Linked DNA regions of Homo sapiens: all the other regions are linked to region 1. Evidence: promoter capture Hi-C in 16 types of primary human blood cells and fetal thymus (Javierre and others, 2016). All regions are on one chromosome and are shown on one strand. The core of a region is centred on a gene start or on the middle of the fragment in contact, and the rest is flanking DNA. Distances in the headings are between cores, read along the strand shown.

What was found. Contacts are between HindIII fragments. The CHiCAGO score rates a contact against its expected background, and 5 or more counts as called.
Region 2: a contact is called between a fragment that was not itself captured here and the fragment with the promoter of PDS5B in region 1, in 6 of 17 cell types (neutrophils, total CD8 T cells, naive CD8 T cells and 3 more). The highest score is 8.9, in neutrophils.
Region 3: a fragment that was not itself captured here is called in contact with the fragment with the promoter of PDS5B in region 1 in 17 of 17 cell types (total CD8 T cells, fetal thymus, naive CD4 T cells and 14 more); the score reaches 28.8 in total CD8 T cells.
Region 4: a contact is called between a fragment that was not itself captured here and the fragment with the promoter of PDS5B in region 1, in 1 of 17 cell types (fetal thymus). The highest score is 5.1, in fetal thymus.
Region 5: a contact is called between the fragment with the promoter of STARD13-AS here and the fragment with the promoter of PDS5B in region 1, in 1 of 17 cell types (endothelial precursors). The highest score is 5.3, in endothelial precursors.
Region 6: a fragment that was not itself captured here is called in contact with the fragment with the promoter of PDS5B in region 1 in 1 of 17 cell types (endothelial precursors); the score reaches 6.0 in endothelial precursors.
Region 7: a fragment that was not itself captured here is called in contact with the fragment with the promoter of PDS5B in region 1 in 1 of 17 cell types (fetal thymus); the score reaches 5.7 in fetal thymus.

What each region holds. Positions count from the first base shown.
Region 1 is chr13:32,585,103-32,587,908 of GRCh38, forward strand. It overlaps PDS5B (PDS5 cohesin associated factor B), which reads left to right and starts at 1,350. Exons shown (of 35, transcript NM_015032.4): 1 at 1,350-1,491. It overlaps PDS5B-DT (PDS5B divergent transcript), which reads right to left and starts at 1,343. Exons shown (of 3, transcript XR_001749808.1): 1 at 1,275-1,343; 2 at 702-820; 3 at 1-467. RefSeq lists silencers at 1,035-1,404, 1,415-1,494, 1,915-2,164 and an enhancer at 2,395-2,454. The HindIII fragment of the contact is 4,434 bases long and covers 1-2,806 here.
Region 2 is chr13:33,557,758-33,560,563 of GRCh38, forward strand. The region is part of intron 1 of LOC102723406 (a long non-coding RNA gene); the gene reads left to right. It also overlaps a transcript of STARD13 not described here. Among named protein-coding and RNA genes, the nearest start is that of LINC02344, 220 kb to the left of the region's middle. The HindIII fragment of the contact is 3,728 bases long and covers 1-2,806 here.
Region 3 is chr13:33,538,348-33,541,153 of GRCh38, forward strand. It overlaps a transcript of STARD13 not described here. Among named protein-coding and RNA genes, the nearest start is that of LINC02344, 200 kb to the left of the region's middle. The HindIII fragment of the contact is 6,829 bases long and covers 1-2,806 here.
Region 4 is chr13:31,845,543-31,848,348 of GRCh38, forward strand. The region is part of intron 1 of LOC124903150 (a long non-coding RNA gene); the gene reads right to left. LOC124900336 (a long non-coding RNA gene) reads left to right here and starts at 1,663. Exons shown (of 2, transcript XR_007063748.1): 1 at 1,663-2,806. It also overlaps the pseudogene EEF1DP3. RefSeq lists a silencer at 910-1,429 and enhancers at 1,278-1,779, 1,780-2,279. The HindIII fragment of the contact is 4,650 bases long and covers 1-2,806 here.
Region 5 is chr13:33,276,107-33,278,912 of GRCh38, forward strand. STARD13-AS (STARD13 antisense RNA) reads left to right here and starts at 1,448. Exons shown (of 3, transcript NR_046693.1): 1 at 1,448-1,590. The region is part of intron 1 of STARD13 (StAR related lipid transfer domain containing 13); the gene reads right to left. The HindIII fragment of the contact is 6,008 bases long and covers 935-2,806 here.
Region 6 is chr13:32,012,815-32,015,620 of GRCh38, forward strand. No RefSeq gene overlaps it. Among named protein-coding and RNA genes, the nearest start is that of FRY-AS1, 17 kb to the right of the region's middle. The HindIII fragment of the contact is 6,051 bases long and covers 1-2,806 here.
Region 7 is chr13:32,032,665-32,035,470 of GRCh38, forward strand. The region is part of intron 1 of FRY (FRY microtubule binding protein); the gene reads left to right. Among named protein-coding and RNA genes, the nearest start is that of FRY, 2.3 kb to the left of the region's middle. The HindIII fragment of the contact is 409 bases long and covers 1,189-1,597 here.

The DNA of each region.
Region 1 (2,806 bases), core at 100-2,599:
AACCAAAGAGGAAAGGTTTTTCTAGATCTAGACATCCTACTCTCCCATACAAGATTTATGTTGATGGAACAACGATGTAAAATAAGAAAATTCCTGAGATAATTTTAAAAAGAGGGCAGAAAAAACTCATAGTAGACTTCATCGAGGAATGTATAAAATGGGTAGAACCTGGAGTATTCAGTGGCAAAATCTTGGACACAGGAATACAGTAACACAACATATTGGTCTAGCAAGCACTGGAGGAGACTGAGGCGGAATTGTCCAGCGAATCCCACAAAAATGGAAATGAAGAGGTCTCAGTATCTCTAGGTGCCCGGGTCCGATGGAATACCGATGTACATACCTTTTCTAACACAGTAGCATTAGTTTATATATCAGCATTACCTCTCTTTTGTTTCAGTTGATAAGTATCCTACTGTAATCCATTCATTCACACTTTGCTTGTTCATTGTTGAAACAAATTCTCCCTGGAACAAAATTCTAGTAACCAAATACATCATATCAGGGGAAACTTCCTTACAGCAGGGATGGTATTAAAGTAAAAAGAGGAGGAAGTCCCTTCTTCAGCTCTGGCAGGGACCCGGCTGGGGAGGAAACCTTCCCGCAAGGTAGGTGATCTGCTGTGGTGACCAGGCTAAACCCACTCTACAGCTGCAGGAGGGACTGGCATCCCTTAGAGGTGAAGAGGGGAGGAGACCCACCTCCTGGAATGTGTCCCTGTGGTCTCCAGATGATTTCTTCCTCTAATAAGGACAATTCTGCCAAAGGAATGGAATGCTTCGTCACAGGCTCAATTACTCTGTCTCCGCCAGCCTACCACCTATAAACAATTCCTCAAATTAGGAAAGCGGGGAGATTTAATAAAGACATAACACGTAAAGTGTAGGAAAACTATTTGTATGGCATTCCGAGACGACTAGGTCAGAGTTAACAAGTAAGGAGCAAAGTAGTTAATAATACCAATTCTGTTTACCCATCACAACACCTGTGCTGAATGTCAGGGTTTAAAAAAATCTCCCAACCTTTATCTAAAAAGATAGGGCTACGTAACAATCGGTGTGGTTTTTGTCGGTAGAGGTCTAGGAAGCCGCAAGAGTAGTGGACGCCTTGACAGCTGCCCTTCTCGCGGGCCCCGCGGCGGCGTGCCCGTGTGGTTGCGTGCGCGCGGACGGGGCGGGGCTGAGGAGGGACGTGCGCGCGCGCGGACGGGGCGGGGTGGAGCTCGGAGGGCGGACGCGCTCGGGGCCGTCTGGTCGGCAGGGGGCGCTGCGCACCCATGCCGCGCTCTGCCTGCCCCCGGGTGCTGTCCGCGGCGGTTCGATTGGAGCAGCCGCCGAAGAGCGCTTGGCGCCATTTTGAAGCGGAGAGGAGGAGGAACGGCAGGGCTGGCTGCGGAAGGGGAGGGGGGGGGAGAAGGCGATTGGATGCGGCGGCGGCGGCGGATCCCGGAGAGCCCCGGAGTGAGCGGAGTAGCGAGTCGGCAACCCGGAGGTAGGAAACAATTCAGTTAACGGAAAGAAAATGTCTCTCTTCTCTGGCTGCGGCGCTCCATTTTTCAGCGGCCGCCACTGCCGCTGTGTGCGTGTGTGTGGCAGGGCTGAAGCGCCGCCCGCCTGGGTGCCAGGCGCGACTCGCCTCCCGGCATCGGGGGCTGCAGCGGGTGGCTGCCTGGCGGTGGCCCGGGGCGGGGGTCGCGGGGCGCGGGCCGGCTGCGCGGTGGGGGTGGGGAGGGCCCCGCGGCCGGCGCGCGCCTCCACGCCGCGGGTTCTGCCGCAGCCTCTGGAAAATTAAACTTGCCGCTCTGATCCCGGCCGGGGCGGCGGCGGCGGCGGGCGGTGACCTTGCGCGCGGGCGGGGGTCTCGGGGCCGCCCGGCCGCCCGCGCCCTCCCGCCGCCGCCGTCGCCGCCGCCGCGCCCCTCCCCCCGCGCCCCGGCCGGCCGGCGGCTGTTTCCCGGGCGGCAGGCGGGCGGCGCGGTGCTCCTGTTGAATCCTCCCGCGGGCGGGCTTCTCCCCCTTCCGGGCGAGGGGCGGGCGGGGACCGCGGGTCGGGGCCGCGGGCGCTCTCGCCCCCGCCGCCGGGTCCCCGCGCGCCGCCTGGCCTCCGCTTCGGGCCAGGGGACGGGCTGAGCGTGACATTTTTGCACTGTCCCTCGCCGCTCGCCGGAGGGAAATCGCGCTCACCGCGCCACCCCGAGTGGTCCCCGAGCAGCCAGTTGAGGAAGAGCCCAGCACTGGCGTGGAGGGACTCCTCCCAGGCCACAACTGGGTTCTAGCTTTCCTTTCAGAAGGAACGGCGGGGAAAATGGTGTGCAATTGTGACTCGTTATTGTTTTTACACTGTTATTTTAATGTTACTTTAAAAGTTTTCGGTCCGGAGAAAAACCTTGTTTGTTGTTGTTGCTGCTACTGCTGTTGGTTTTTGGTAGAGACGTGAAAGCTAACTCTTAAGTAGCTCGACAGTTATTTTGGACGAATGACTGAAACCAGAAACGCCGCCCCTCGCCTTCGGAGCTGCAGGCTGCTGCGTTCCTTGCCGCGGACGGGGCGAGCTCCGGGAAGGGTTGGTAGAGCAGCTACCCACCCACTCCACGCGCGTCTTCAACAGCCTCTCTCCCCCAGCGAGGGTTAACCCTTTTTTATGTCGAAGAAAGTGCTTCTCGTACTTTTAATAAGAGGTGATGGATGGGCAGTGGTGCCCAGACTGATCCTACCCTGTTGATGAAATAGTTTCGAAAACTTTGGGTATAGCCTTAATTTAGAGGGTTGGTCTGCGGTGTGGAGAGAGTTGGGTAATCCTATACTATC
Region 2 (2,806 bases), core at 121-2,620, 970 kb after region 1:
TAAGCCAAGGTATAAGTCCTTGCTAAGAGAAAGGAGTTTAGATAAACCGTTGCTAAGAGGCAGGAAGGTATACCTATAGAAGGTTTCCTCAGAGGCCATAGAGAATTTAGGGAGAACGAGATGTTGACATGACCCTGGTCCCTAACTTGAAATTATAGCTGTGAGAGTTTCCTTTTCTGTGCATCGGAACATTCTCAAGGGCAATGACAGAGAAGCACAAGGGAGTAAGCTGCCATATCATTTAAACCAATAAACAAACTATTTCATGAAAATAAAAACCATTTAAGATTGTAAAAAGCCAAATGTAGTAAAAAGTCCTTTTGTAATAAAGGTGGAAATACAATCTCATGTATAGAACAGAAACAAAGTAATACTTTAAGAGGAAAAAAATAGTTTCCAAATTCTCCCAAGGTTTTTTTCACTCATAATCTTTCTTTCCATCACTTGCTTGTTCTGTGACTGTGAGCAAGGTACCTGCAAGGTACATACCTCTCTATGCCTCAGTTTCCTTATCTATAAATTGGGGATGATAATAGTGATATCTGCCTCACAGGTTGTTAAGGTTAAATAAGTCAATATTTTAAAAACAAAAAAGTACCTGGAAAGTACTAGGGACAATAAATGCTTGTTAAATAAAATTTAAAAATAATATATTTACTAAAGCACATTTATATACTTTCTTTTAAAATATGGCCCTGTTGGTAAGGTGTTTTTCCCAGCTTGCTTTGAACTATTTGTATTTATTTTTTGAAATTAAAAAAATACCTGCCTATCTGTACGGTAGAGAGAAAGAAGGGAAAGAAAGAAGGATACAGAAAAAATGAAGGAAAGAAGTGAAAGAAATAGAAAGGAATTACTAAGTTTTCTTTAGGAAAAGGGGCAAAAACTTTGACACTGCTCAGAAGCTAATGTTTCACTGATTCTTCTCACTTTCTACTTTCTGTTATGCTATCCTAGGGCCTGAAAATGGTTATAAATACAATAAGAAGTCACTCCCATATAATTCTAAATGTTTATTCTGACAAATATAATAAAATGATTATAGCAGTACTCTGTCTGCTAATATAAGGCTACTGCTATTGTCATGCACAGAATTCTCCCAATATTAGAGTTTTATTTTTTGTTATCAGTAATCCTCAGGTTCAGTGTCATCCCTTTCTAACCAAGTTACTCATCTGGAAATTAGTACATATCCTGAGAATTGAAGACAATACAGTGTTAAAAGTAAGAATAGTTGACTTTTCAATTTCATGTTTTTAGGCATATGATAGGCAGGTTTATATTATAATTTTTAACTAATCTGTCATTTGAATTCTCTATTTTCCCCCAAAAAATCTTTTCAAATGATTAGCAAAGACTGTTCGGTTTCTTCCTTTGCCCTGTCTCAAAAAATTAGAGGAAAGGTTTGGAAAATGCTTTTGAAGACTAATACTTTTATGTAACTATTTTCTAAACTACATTAACCTGCTACATTTATTTATAATGAGTTTTTAATAATGTTATGTTTTGTTTTCCCAAAAGTATCACCTATTTTATTCAACTAAAAGTTCTATTTATATGTAATACATAAAACTCAGATATACCTTAGACTTGAAAGAATTGGAATAAAGTTGGAGAATAAAGAAATTAAGGGACCTTCAAACTTTATATAGTTGGTGTTAAATATTGATGTCTTTCCAAAATTCATATATAGAAGCCCTAACTCCCAATGTGATGATATTAGGACTTGGGGTCTTTGGGAGGCAATGAGGTTTAGATGAGGTTGTGAGGGTACATCTCCCATGATGAGATTAGTGTCCTTATAAGAAAAGGAAGAGGCCAGGCTCAGTGGCTCACACCTGTACTCCTAGCATTTTGGGAGGCCGAGGCGGGCAGATCACAAGGTCAGGAGTTCAAGACCAGCCTGGCCTGAACATAGTGAAACCCCATCTCTACTAAAAATACAAAACATTAGCCAGGTGTGGTGGCATGCGCCTGTAGTCCCAGCTACTTGGGAGGTGGAGGCAAGAGAATCTGTTGAACCCGGGAGGTGGACGTTGCAGTGAGCCAAGATCACGCCACTGCACTCCAGCCTGGGCGACAGAGTGAGACTCCATCTCAAAAAAAGAAAAGAGACACTAGAGCTTCTTCTCTGCCATGTGAAGATACAGCAAGAAGTAGTCAGCAAGGCAGGAAGAGAGCCCTCAACAAGAACTAAATGTGCTAGCACCTTGATCTTGGACTTCCCAGCCTCTGGAACTATGAAATATATGCCTGTTATTTAAGCCATCTAGTCTGTGGTATTTTGTAGTATAGCAACTGTGCTAAGACATTCAGATTTTCAGGTTCTGAGAGCTTAATATGAAATAAAAAACTGTTGCTGACATGGTAGGTAATATTTTAAGGATGGTTTGTATTTTTTCCCTATGGCTGTCCACATAGCTACCCCACACTATTGTCTTATACTTACAAGCAGGACATTAAATATTAGTGCAACATTAGTTCTTACCTTTAAATGATTGTTTTTCTCTAGTGGAACTTCAAATTGGTCTGAAAACTTAAATACATAGGTTGTAAGTTTAAACTTTTTAAAAAGTTAAACTGTCCTTATATGGACTGCTGGAAAGCATAATATCCTAAGAAAACGAAGTAAATTATTTTAAAGGGAAAAGGATTAGTCTTCAAAATGGGAAAAACTTGAGTTCATTTTTTCCCCTTTTCAACAGAATCTAGGATGGCAAAATGACATAGGAAATGCCACCTCAAAATCTAGACAGTATACATAATCAGTCTTACATCCCGTGGGTCACAATAAAGGAGCTGTTTC
Region 3 (2,806 bases), core at 231-2,730, 950 kb after region 1:
TGCTTTCAGGAGTCCACTGATTGAGAAAATAAAAATGCGAGTTCAGGGCCCACGAAAGAGGGAAGGCCTAACACCTCGGCTTTTAGCTGGGACACAGAAAGGGTCACCTCAGGAGTAAGAAAGAACCTGAAATAGACGAGACCTAACAAAGTCTAAAAACCAGTTTGAAATAATCTCACTTCCATATTAGATTAAGGTGCTCTGCCCTTAGCCTAGCTTCCTAATAGAAGCAAAAGTAAATCCTACAAATACTTCCATAAAGTAAAAAACACCACTCAGAGCCCAGTATTTTTTTTTTTTTCATAAACAAAGACAACATTTCATAAAGAATTTCTGGGCATACCAGGAAACAGAAGAAAAAGATAATGGAAACAAGATCCACAGATGATCCAAATACTGGAGTTAATGGGCACAAACTATTTAATTTTTTTTTTTTTTTTGAGACGGAGTCTGGCTCTGTGACCCAGGCTGGAGTGCAGTGTTATAATCTCGGCTCACTGCAAGCTCCGCCTCCCGGGTTCACACCATTCTCCTGCCTCAGCCTCCTGAGTAGCTGGGACTACAGGTGCCTGCCACCATGCCGGACTAATTTTTTGTATATTTAGTAGAGACGGGGTTTCACCGTGTTTGCCAGGATGGTCTCAATCTCCTGACCTTGTGATCCGCCCACCTCTGCCTCCCAAAGTGCTGGGATTATAGGCGTGAGCCACTGCGCCCGGCCTTGCATTTATTAATACTAGAGACGTAGAATCTATGCATAAGAAAATTCTAGAACTAAAATAAAATGATTCAACAACTGAAAACTTAAACTAAAAAAATACACTTAGAATAAAAACCATGAAATGTGTTGGAAGAAACTTAACAATGTATGTGCAATACCTGTATGCTGAAAATTACAAACAGAAATTAAAGATCAAAATAAAAGGAGATATATGCCATGTTCATAGATTGGAAAACTCAGTATTTTTAAGATGTCAGTTCTCTCCAAGCTGATGAATAAATTTAACAGAATCCCATTCAAAATCCCAGCAGATGTTTTTAGAAATTGAAATGACAATTTAAAAATTTATATTAAAATGCAAAGGACTTAGAATGGCCAAAGTAATTTTGAGGAAAAAAATACTTCCACTATCTGATTTCAAGACGTATAAAGCTACAGTAATCAATACAGTGTGGGACTGGGTTAAGAACAGACATATTTATCAATGAAATTGAATAGAATAGAAATTCAGAAGATCGGCAGATTTTTAATAAAGGTGCCAAGGTAATTCAATGAAGGATAATCTTTTTAACGAATGCTACCAGAATAACAGGATTTCTATTTTGAAAAATATGACTATCAACCATTATTGTGCCATACTAAAAATTAAGTGGATCGTAAACATAAATAAGATATATTGTGAATCTCAGAAATGAGAGGATTTTATGAACAGCTTTATGCTAATGAATATTTGGATACGTACAAATCCCTACAAATATACAACTTACAAACAAAAGCTGCTCTTTAAAAGACACTTTTAAGAAAATGAAAAAGCAGGCCACAGACTGGGAGAAAAATATTCACAACATATACTTCTGACAAAAAAGTCATACGCATAGTATGTAAATAACTCCTACAACTCAATTACAAACAACTTAGTTTTAAAATGGGCAAAAGTTTTGAACATATACCCACTTAATGGCTAAAACTAAAAACTAAAAATAGCAAGTGTTGGCATTTGATAAAAAGACCTGTCACCCTTTTAAACTATAGTAGTTCCCCCTTAGCTTCAGGGGAAATGTTCCAAGAACCTAGTGGATGCCTGAACCTCAGAGAGTACCCTACCCTAAATATATTATGCACGAATTTCTTTTTCTTTCTTCATAATTTCACAGATAGAAGACTGATTCTTACCAACCACTTGGTTCCTAGTGACCTTAGGTGATTCCTTAAGTCGAGAACTTTCACCTTCCACTTAAAGGAAGCACATTAAGGCTTCTTTTGGCATATCCAAATTGCCAGTATCACTACTATTGGGCCTTGGAGACATTATTAAGGAAAATATAGGTTATTTGAATCCAAGCTCAGTGATATGGTGATAGTTGATAACTGTGATAGTGGATGCTGAACAAAGGGAGGATACACGTTCTGGGAGGCACAGAGAGAGGCAGCATGAGATTTCATCACACTACTTAGAACTTCTAGCAATTTAAAATTTATATTTCTGAAATTTTCCATTAAATATTTTTGGACCTCGGTTGACAGTTGGTAACTGAAACTATGGAAAGCAATACCATGTATAAAGGGGGTTCCTATACAAGGATGTTTGATGAGTGCAGACACAAATAGATTCGATGGTGGGAATACACAAAAATTCTTGGCTTATGCTCACAATTCTTTTTTCAATAAAGTGTGAGGCAAAGTCATTAGTTGAGGAAGTTGATAATTTGAGGAAGGAAAAGAATGAGATATTTGGATTACAGAAGGAAAGGGCAAAGTCAGTAAAGCAAAGGAGTAGGAGAGCTGATCAATATGCAGAGCCAATTTAGGTGTGAGATCACACTAGTCCACCCAACAGTTAACAGGCTGAGCCCAAGCTCAGAAAAGATAAATGCATGCAGGAGTTCATCCATGGTTTGAGTTTTGCCAGGGAAGTGCTAAAAGTGAGGGATAAGAGTTGAGGATATTTGCAAAGGAGTCAATGCCACTATTTCTGAATATATGTGTACTCTTTGAACTGTGAAGGGCTATGTTACTGTAACTTTATAGTATAATGGTAGCAAAATGAAGCAATCCCTCAATTTAAGGTTGGTTATATACGATGTA
Region 4 (2,806 bases), core at 219-2,718, 740 kb before region 1:
CGATGGAGTCTTGCTCTGTCACCCAGGCTGGAGTGCAGTGGCACAATCTCGGCTCACTGCAACCATCGCCTTCTGGGTTCAAGCAATTCTCCTGCCTCAGCCACACGACTAGCTGGAATTACAGGCACGCACCACCATGCCCGGCTAATTTTTGTATTTTTAGTAGAGACGGGGTTTCAGCATGTTGGCCAGGCTGGTCTCGAACTCCTGACCTCGTGATCCACTTGCCTCTGCCTCCCAAAGTGCTGGGATTACAGGCGTGAGCCCCGTGCCCGGCCAATACATTTTTAAACATCAGAATTATTGAGATACTGTTCACATTCCATAAAGTTCAGCCCTTTAAAATGTACAATTCAGTGGTTTTTAGAATATTCAGAGCTGTGCATCCATTCCCACTATCAAATTGCAGAACATTCTCATCACCCTAAGAGAGTCCCATCCATTAGCAATCACTCCCCAGCCCTCCCACCCCAACAACCACTAATCTACTTTCTATCTCTATATTTTTAATTGATTGTTTGCTATACAGTATACATAGCATTACATATGAGAATGCAACTCTTCTCTGGACAGAAAAGAAATAAACGCTGAGGCAGCTTTGATTTAGCATTGAAATACAGAATCAATCTGTAACCAGCTCTATGACCTTGGACAAGTTGTTTAACTGGATTTAGTTTCTTCATAAGATAAAGAAGTCTAGAGGTGTGTAAGGACACCTTCAGGTTAAAAAACAAGCAAAAACAAAAAAGCCTTGGTGACAATTCCAGTGCTTCACCCTAGACAGCCTTTCCTGGGCTTCCGTGAGAAACGAATTTATACAAATAAGATTTCACACCACAGCTGCCGCGGCCACTGCCCTCCCCGCGCAGAGCTCTAGAGATGTTTTCTCTTTTTCTTTTCTTTCTGGCCGTCTATTTATCTCTGGGCTGGCAAGGAGAGGGAGAACTGCAGCGCCCAGGAGCGGAGGCCGAGCGCGCCGGTGCCCGCAGGAAGCCTCGCCCAGCGCGGACCGCACCCTCCCGCGACGCCCCTGGAGAAGCCGCCAGTCTCTGGGCCGCCAGCAGCGCGCGCCCCCGGCGTGGGAGGAGCGCGGCGAGCAGGGGCGGGGCCAGTGACTCCCGCAGCCAATCGGGGTGGCGGCGCGTCCTTGGAGGGTCCGCAGCTCGCCCGGCGCGCACGGGGCGGGGCTCCGCTTGACCGTGGCGGTCGCCGGGCAGCAGAGCCCGGGCGCAGCGAGCGCAGCGCAGCGCAGGGAGCGCAGGCGGTGGCGGCACCAGGTTCCCGGGGCTCCAGCGCTCGGCGCAGCGAAGTAGCCTCCGGCGGTGGCAACTACGGCGGCGGCGCCGGGGCGATGCTGTGGGTCTCGTTGGGCGCCGGTGTCCTGGCCTCTTCCTCAGGTACCCAGCCCCGCTTGCCCCTCGCCCCGGGGAACCGCAGCGCCCGGGAGGTAGCTTTGTGAGGCTGTGGGCTCGCTGCCGGGGAGTGGGTGGGTGGGGCCGGGCGGGGCTGTGCGGTCTGGGCCGCCTTCCCTCGGAGGAAGAGGGTGGGGACCGAGGGAAGCGGGCGGGGGTGGGAGCGCTGTCTCCGGGCCGCCGCTGATGGCATCCCAGGGCTCCGTCCTCCTCCTGCCTCCATGTGGGTTGAAAGAGGTTTTGTTCCAGGAGAAAGTTTGATGCCTAGACTTGAGGAGCCAAATTCGGGGGTCCCTGAGGTCCGCGCCTTTAAAGAGGCAGCCCGCCCTGCCGTGTGAGCCCGTGCCCTGCGTGTGGGCACGTGGGAACCCGTACCTGAGCAGCATTCCTGACACGGGACCTTCCTTGAGAAAATTCCCCTGTGGAAGAATCCCCCTTGGGGAGGGGGCTTTGTGGAGATGGCACCCAGAGCCCGCCCAGTGTGGGTTTTGCTTGAAAACAGTGCAGCAGGTAGTCAATGCCCCCTTGTTATCTTCCCGTAGAATGGACTCGACCAAGATCTATGATCTAAGAGCTTCAAAAATTAAATCTACCTTGCCATCTAATTAAACATCCCCAAACACTAGTGTGTTCAAGGTGCCAATAATTACTCTGTCGATTCTTTAATATTTTCTTATTGCCCATACTTTCAGTTGGCTTTTGCAGTTTTGGAAAGGGTGCTGTGGAGCATACCAAAGTGGGTAGAAGTTATGGCTCACCTCTCAGGGTGATAGCCCAGTGCAAAAAAATACAGAACACATGCCTGTCCACTCGAAGATAGGAGAAGGTTTCAGCCTTCAAAGCAAGATAGATTAGGTGGGGGTTATTTGCTTTACAAAACTTCCTCCAGTGCAGAGAAGTGATGCTTAGAGTTAAAACTGAGTTTTACACAAGTTTGTAGGAACACATCTATCATAAAGCGGCTCAGGGTAGAGGTAGTGACAGGTAGAGGTAGATATCGCATAGTCTTGCCATTAAGCAAATCTAAAAAAATGCATGTTAAATTCTGCATCATTCTCACTGATCACACGTGGATGCTCACATTTACATTTTTCCTTTCTTATCAAGATGTATTCCTACCATAAGACAACTTCATAATTCCCTCAAAACGCCTTAGCCAAGGCCATTTTGTGGTCCATATAATTTACCCCATGCTAAAAAACGTATCTGTAAAAACATTTACATTTAAGGGAATTTCCCTAGTGGTGACACAGTAGTGTCCATACATTGAGCACATTTTATTCACCAGACACATTACTAGGTGTGGACGTATATTAATACTTTAATTCTTGCAATCACTCTAAGGAGGTATTATTATTAGTTTCCCTGTTTTTGAATTTAAAGAGTTCAGGTAA
Region 5 (2,806 bases), core at 198-2,697, 690 kb after region 1:
TTGTCTGCCTTAGACCTTCCAACTAAAAGTACAGCAAGTGGAATGGAATGCTAATATGAGGATCCAAATTTTCAGGGAAGGAGGTCAGTAGACTTTCCTATCTGAAAGAGACCAATGGTGAAAATGAAGGTGGTTTGATGATTAAGAACCTGTTAAACATAACGCATGGGTTTACAGAAGTCCAGACAGTAAGGGCCTTGCGATGGATTTCACACTCTATTTTGAGAAATGCATGTAGTGGGAAATGTGTTGTGTCCCTCAAAGCATCTGGAGAAGATTCTTTAATTTTCTCAAATAAGAACTCCGTCTATTTGAGTGAGAATCGTTGGAATATCATTAACGCAGGATTTGTGAATCGTTCTTATTTCTTATAATAATTTTACATATTATACATAATTTCAGGGTGGTATAACTCTCAGAGGAAAATGTGATTTTATGACTATACATACTTTTTGTATCCAGTGTGTCGTTTGGTGAATATAAATGTATATGAAATGCTACTGTTCACTCATAGAGATTGAATACTAATCAAAGGTTCCTGCTGTCCATATGTATGATTTTCAGAAGTAAGCAGGAAGGGGAGAGTTGGAATGCAGGAAGAGAATGCCTACTTCAGCTCGAAATCCTGACATGTAAATTAGGTACTTGGTGACTGCCAAGTTCCTTTCCAATCTCTCTGCATTGTTTCGCCCTTGTGTTTTATCCAACTGTTAGGAGGCAAAGCAACACAAATCATTTGTATTTTAGTAAGCTCTGCCTCTGTCAGACCTTTAAAATTCTCAGGATTCCTATGCTGTGTGAGGAAAATCATTTGACAGTCTAGCCAGACACTGTAGATCTATTTCTATTGATTTTCTTTTGCTAACAGCATTAGCATTTTCTGTAATTTTGAAGTTATTTTCCAAGTTCTCCATTTAGATTATTTTAGATCCTAAGCTTCTGAAAAAAAAAAAAGAGAGAGAATTCATGTCTTTTCAAACAGTAGTATATAAATTTTCATGGTACTTGGTCCTTCCCTAGACTGCACCAGTCCAGAATGACCACCATGGTCTTGAGTGACTTCACAGTGTGGCGGCTTGGGCTAGGCAGTATGGTAATTCCCTATGCATTCTGTTGGAGTTTTTGGATGTTGTGTGATTTCTCTCCAGAAGCGTCATTCATAATGTGAATGCTAATGTGTATCTCTTTGCCAGCAGGAGGAAAAACATCTGAAGAATATATTTGTAGACTTCCTGGAAATTGATAAGTTGTCTCCATAACTAAAGCAAGCAGATTTTACTAATTAGAATTATCTACATAATTTTACTTCATTCACTTCTTTCTGTCATACTAGGAGAGCCTTTATATAACCAAAGATATTTTTGGACCATGAATTCAGAAATTCTCGGAGCCACCCATCAGTGCCTGAGCTTCAGTGAGTCCATATCCCATGTCACCCACGGCAAAGGAGACTCTAAGACTTCTGAAGAGTTTCTTGCTTCTTTCCTGTGGGGCAGTGACTCCACTTCCCAGCAGTAATGGAATATCCTGAATTAGCTACATTAATGTTAGAACCATTTGGACCTCACCCAGGACTTCAACTACATTATGGTAAGACAAAGCCAGAGCTAGAAGGCAATAATTTCTTCCTTCTGGCTCAACAGTACCTATCTTGTAGAGTTATTTGAGGAATGGTTGTATTCTTGATGTTATAATTATTAACTCTACCCATATACCGACTCAGCTTTCTGTTCTGCCTACCCAAGATAGAATCTTTGTGTGGTTGTTAATTTTCATAAAAAGATGGTCATCTGGCCTTTACTCAGTTGACTTTTAAAGTATTTGTGGCTGGCCTTTTTGGAAAACATAGAATACTTGCAATGTTCCTCTCCAAAACACAACTTCAAAGTATCTACTGCCAAATCTATGCAAGAAGTATATTCAGAGAGAATTATCTAAGGGAAGCGTAGGCCACATACTCTCCTAGATCAGCATTTCCAAAATGTGTTCCCCAGGGAAAGCTGGTTTTGCAATATGTGACTTCCCAGTATCCTGTGAAAAGTGGTTTCAAGATGAAATATACCAGTTTAAACACAGTTAAACTACTTTGTGCAAGATTTTCCTGAGCCTTTCATAAGTCTGAATTTCCAAGGGAAAGGGAATGTAGCATTTCCAAAAATGACTTAACCACAGAAATGTTTTCTCCCTTGAATATCTGTCTAATGGGCCTAGTGTTCTGTGAAGCAGACTTATAGAAATTGCCTGTGGATAATCTCCATGCTATTTCTAGGTTAAGACAGAGAATCTGAAGACTGCATACCTGACCTCTCGTTTTTACCTACCCACCCACCCACACCCAAATATTTCTACTGGACTATAATTTATTGTGACGCCCCCATTTCCACTGCAGGATGTTATAAGAAATGAGACTCACTACTGAATTCACAGCAGGCATGGTTGAAGGCACCATTCACTATAGCTTGCAGTGTTCCCTTTATGAGATTTGTATGAGAAATTCCTCTCATAGGTCAAGTTCTTGGGAGAAAATTCTCCCAAAGAGCAAGTCCCAGGAAAATCTTGGCTGGTAAGTTCTTACCTTAAGAACAGGGAAAATCTTCCCTTGGTTGTGTTTTCCTCTTTGCTTAGATCAGGGAAGCTCAAGCCAAATTTGCAGCCCATTTTTGATTATTATTCAAGGCCTTACATTTTATATTTCCATGTGATATATCTTCCTAGTTTTACCTCATTAATTGGCCAACATTTCTCTTTTCATCAGATTTATCTTTTTTGCAATCTTTAGTTATATATTCTTCTATAAATGACCTCA
Region 6 (2,806 bases), core at 176-2,675, 570 kb before region 1:
AAGGCCTTTCAAGTTGTCTGCCTGATGATTTTTAAAAGGTCAAATTCATTTAAAGTATTTCACTCATAATGTGGGGAAATAGAAGTTGTTCTCAATCTAACCAGAAAGAACGTCACTTACAAACCAGAATGCCTACGTTTTGCAGGGCCGAGGATCCAAGGTGATGTTCATCAGCTCCTTTCACATGGATCTAACCTGCCCATGTAGGCCCACTCCAATCACCTGGAAAGTGTGAGTCCAAGGCCAGAACCTACCCAGGCCAGTTCTGTGATGCCCTCTTTCTCCTTACCTTGGGCATCCTTGGCTTTAATGGCCAATTCTGTACTTGCTGCCCTGGCTCTACTGGTCTCCCACATAGACAGTTCCCACGTTTGTGTTTGGCCATCGAACGCAGTGTTTGGGTAAGAGGCACTCCAGATCTCTCAGCTGCCAGTCCACTGAGCTGATTCTCTTTTTAGTTGGAGTAGGGAGAGTTTAATCAAATTTAGAGAACTGGGGATTGGAATCATCCAGCAGGCACATCACCCTTGGTCATCACAGGGTTACCCATCCAGAGCAGTGGAGAAAATGAAATGTTTTCAGAGGCAGTCAAACTTGACCTTTAATTTAGCATGGACCATAGCTTGTCAAGGTTCATCAGCAGAGCGGTACTGTTGTAAGCATTTGCTAATGTAGACATTATTTGACGTTAATTTACTTGCTAATTTGACACATTTTTGTATAACACAGAATAAGTTAAATCGCAACAAAATTTATTTATTTATTTATTTATTTATTTATTTATTGAATATTCCTTAAACACCTATCACATGCTAGGCATTGTTCTGGGTGCTAAAATTACAGCTGTGAATAAAATAGACACAGCTCCTTCCCTCGCAGATCTTATATTCTGGTGGGGGAGGGCGGGAGACTAAGACCATGTAAATATGTATTATTCAGAGAGTGAAATATGCTTTGAATAAAATATAGAAACAGAAGAAAGTCACAGTGACAGGGGAAGGAAATTTCGCCTTATATTGGGTGGTCAGGGAACATCTTATTGATAGGCAGAGCCTGAAGAAAGAGAAAGAGCAAACCATATGGATACCTGGAGAGAGGAAGTTTGGGCAGAAGGAAGAGCAAATGCAAAGGCCCTGGGCTGGGTCTTCTCAAGGAAAAGCAAGGAGGCCGCTGTGGCTGGTGTGGGGCTGGCGCTTATTCTACACTGCTGCCTTTCAGAAAGTGTAACAAAGAACCAGATGGCTCTTTGCTAGACTTGCCCTATTTTGTTGTGGTTGTTAACTAAAAATACATGGGAAAAGGGTGTTTTTTATACTGCTAAGGTTGCATTCTTGATTGGCTAAGGAGTTAACCCCAGGATGTGTGTGTGTGTGTGTGTGTGTGTGTGTGTGTGTGTGTGTGTGTGTGAATGATATATATACATACCTATACACACACACGTTTGTTTAATGAAATGGGAGAGAAGTTGAGACATACCTTTTTGTGCTTCAATGTGAGCCTGTGAGAGTTAGTAGTTTAGCTGATACAAAACCCCTTTGTAATCTATTATGCAGCCTGTTATTAGCAATCAGTCCTACAAGTGCTATTATTTTCATCCTCCAAGTAAAGCATAGGAGTTGGGTAAGGGTCAGAGTAGTTTGAAATTTGGATAAGAACTCAAATTCTTTACTGACTTCCCTCACACCTACATCTAACTTCTGCAGGAGCTATCCCATTAGTTGTGAATGATTTAATAAGCAAAACCTGGGGTGAGTTTACCTCCTGAGGCCAGTTCAGTTTTTAGACATAGTTGGCTTGCCCTGAGCTCTTCTTGGCCTATTTCTGGGCATTATGCATCCTGAGAAATATCGGGATTTTTTTTCTGTTACAAAGCGAACACTTCTCATGCTTCCAAGTGTTTACATGTATCAGGCCCTAAGTGGTGGCCCTATCAGGAGCAGAGTGTGCAGGCGATGTTGTGCAGGGTGGGCATGGCTCAGCCTGTGCTGTCTGTGTGGTTCCAATGGTTCCAATATCCCAGCGGGGCTGTGCCTGTCCACCAGCCTGCTGGTTACCACAGCAGATAACATAGTAGACTCAGGGTTTAAGAAGAACCACCACCCAGAGCAAATGAATAAAACTGTAACTGCTTCATGGCTAGACTCTCTGAAGAAATGCCTCTGATATAACCTCAGTTGGTCCTCAGAAGAAAGTTTGCAAAAACAAGAACAATGTCTGAACTCATTCCTTGACCATAACCATCAAATTTAAATGCCACAGTTTCTCCATGTGGGAAATTCAAAGACATTGTGGACCTTTGCATGATGTGAAGGTGTGTTAATGAGATAGCTAGCTCCTTTTTGGAAAAGAAAACCTCAGAGTAAGACATAAAGTCTTTCTTGGCTGCAGCTGTTCTTTCATGAATGATCAGCTAGGTAAGCATGTTCCAGTAAAATTAAGCCTCACCATTGACAAGTGTTTGGAGGGCATTGTAAGATTCATGGATACATCCTGCGTCTGCCTTGTTGTTTTCTACGGGTTGAACATACGGCATTTAAGGAAATTTTGTGGTTAGTAACAGAAGATTTCAAAATTAATCTCTAGAATTTATATCTCTTAGATTAGATATTTTAATAAAAACACAATATTCCATACTGTCATGTGATTGCTAGCCTTTGGTTTGTATGAAAGAATTGTTTCACTCTTTCTGTAGATTTCTACAAAAAATCACTTGGCAGATACATACCAAAAGAATATTGTATTTTATATATTTAATATATTGAAAGGGATGCTGTCATACCCAATGCTTCTGAGCTCACCCACAAAA
Region 7 (2,806 bases), core at 143-2,642, 550 kb before region 1:
AATTAAAATGAGGCCTTCAGGTGATCAATGATGCCTTGTATTTTCCGAACTGTTTAAAAAGAAAGTCTTCTCTATTTCACTAACAGCCTTTGTACTTGCTTTGGATAAAAGATCAGCAGGTATTACTGATGCTTTATTGTTTTAAATAAAAAAATTTTTTCCCCGTGAAAATTTTAATATTGTATTATGTGCATACTGATTAACCTACCTGTGCTCAAAGAGCTAGTGATTAATTGTCTCCTACACAAATGACCTGTGGCCAAGATTGTTCTTATATAAACAAAACCTGGGCAGGAGAACCTGTGCTGCAATTGCTTTGAGGAAAAGAGCTAAAGTACCTTCAGCCTTAAGGTATTCAGGGATGTGCATCTCTAAATGATATCCATAGAAACCATTTTTTCCAGGTCATTTTGCACCACTGTATACACTATGGGGCTTGTCTGAAGCTGTTTTTCTACAAGTGGGAAGCCATTTGGGAGTAATACTGTTGCCCAAACAGCATTCTTTACTTGTCATAGCTATAAATCATTTAACTTGGACTCATTATTTTTATAATACTTTACACTCAAGGATGAATCTTCCTTTGTCTATCTGCTCTTTGATTAATGAAAAGAATTTGACATACAGTGTTCTTTATGGAGCAGTTTTCCAATAACTGAAAAAACTCACTTTTGAGTTGACATCAGTACGTGGTTTTTAAACATATTTGATTATTCCAAGACCAGACTGTTTTCTTCCATCAATTTTTGTCATTGCATCATTAAATAGAAAATTATGTTGTGACAATACTGAGGCCAATGGGATTTCTTTTAAAAATTTCTCTCCCCTTGTCTATTTTCAAATCACTCTAGATAAAGTATATATTCTCTCCACCCTTCCTAAACTCCTCTCCCCACATACATACTTCAGGAAATGATTCAAAATGACTGTTCATTTCTACTTTGAGAATATCTGTGATACAATTTTGAATTCTTCCAATTCATTCAGCAAATATTTATTGAATACCTACTATGTGCCAGGCTGTGGGGCTACACAAGGTGAATAAGACACAGTCCCTGCCCACTATATTAATTTTTTTATTTCAGAGTAGTGAAGTTGGTGGCTTTCCAGCATTCTTTTGAGGGGGAGAATGTTTTTCAGTCCTTTCTTGAAAGAGGAAGAGGAAATATACTTTGTTTATCTTCTTTAAGCTTGTTACAACACTAACCTGCTTACAATCTAGCATAGTTCTCATTGCTAAGTTTTACATATTTTGAGCAGCAAAGAGAGAAAGGAATTTGTCTGTGTAGAAGGCAAAGTAGAAACAGAAGCCCTAAGGCTCAACATACTCAGTGTAACCTTGGCTGAGAGGATGCACCATGAGGCAAGCGGCTAATTGCACCTGCATGCACCTGCACGCGCATGCCTGGCCTCACAAGTTTGAGAGGTGAGGATGTCTGCCCACATACCTGAATGGAGACTCAGCCTCTTAATTATATGGTGGTGCTTATTTACAAAAGTGCAGTAATTAAAAAGCAATAAAACAAACTCTATAACTATGACTGGCTGTTTTGCAAGGTGTTAGAAGAAAGGTAATTCCATAAGCGTTTCCAGGTAAAGCTTTCCATATTTTTTTAAATGGCACATTGTGGGGAAAATGTAATTATATATATATTAGTCCCCTCCAAAGAATTCACAGGCCAATAAATAGATCAGTCGCTGGCTAGTGAGATGTACTAGCTTTCATTCGATGTTCATTTTGGTGTTCTCCTCTTTATCGGCACGTCTACTCTGTCATGCTGCCCTTTGATTTGAATGGAGGTGGGAATTAAAATGGCCTTGATGTCTGGAAATAAAATGTCCTATGTAGACCTGAATATGGAGGCTTTCCTGTCCCCTTGGATGTCTGTCCTGTTGCTCTTCCCTGCTCTTATCCAGCCTTTCCCCAGCTGTCTAGTGGTTCTCACGGCTGCGGCCCCTTGTTAATCATGGCCACAGCCTCCACATGCCCTTCTCAGTTTAACCTGGAATGCTCCAGTGGTGTCCTCACAGTCAAAGGCTGCTCCCCAGCTCCCTTTTGCCTCTGAGTGTCAGTGGTAGCCACTCAGGACCCTCTTTGAGCTCCTCGTTCATCCTCTCTCATGTTTTTCTGCTCCAGCCAACCAAGCTTAATCTACTCACTCTCCTCTGTATTTAACTAACATGCTCCCAAATTCATGCCTGTACACCCATCAGTCTCCTAATAAGGCCTCGCTTACCTAGAATGTAAAAATGGCAGGGCCAAATGGGCTTCAGATCTCTTGCTCCTGCACTTGCATGGCTTCGGACAGTTAAGTAATCACTCTCAGTTTCCTCATCTGTAAAATGTACGCAAAAATAATGGGTACCTCATAGGAGTAAATGAGGTATTAAGATGTAAAGCACTTAGCACAATACCTAGCACATTGTAAATGCCCAATAAGCATTAAAATAATATTCATGTATTCTAATGCCCTCCTCCCTTCTAAATCCACTTCAAATCGGATGTAGACCATGTCTTCCCTTAGCCTTGGCATCCAAAGTGGGTTATTTTATGAGTAATCAACACTTGCTACACTCTAGAGAAGAGAACTACATAAATAAATGTCAAAATTAGTTGGTTATTTTGGGCTGGTTTTTTTTCTCCCAGATTTACATTTTTAACTTTACCCCTTGACTACTTTAACTTTCTACCTCACTTACTATTAAAATATCCCACTTACCCTAAGTGCATACTTTCTAGCAGCTTGGGAGTTGGTCTGGGAATTTTCTTAGTGGCAGAAAGTCACTTTGGCCTCTTAGGTTTGCT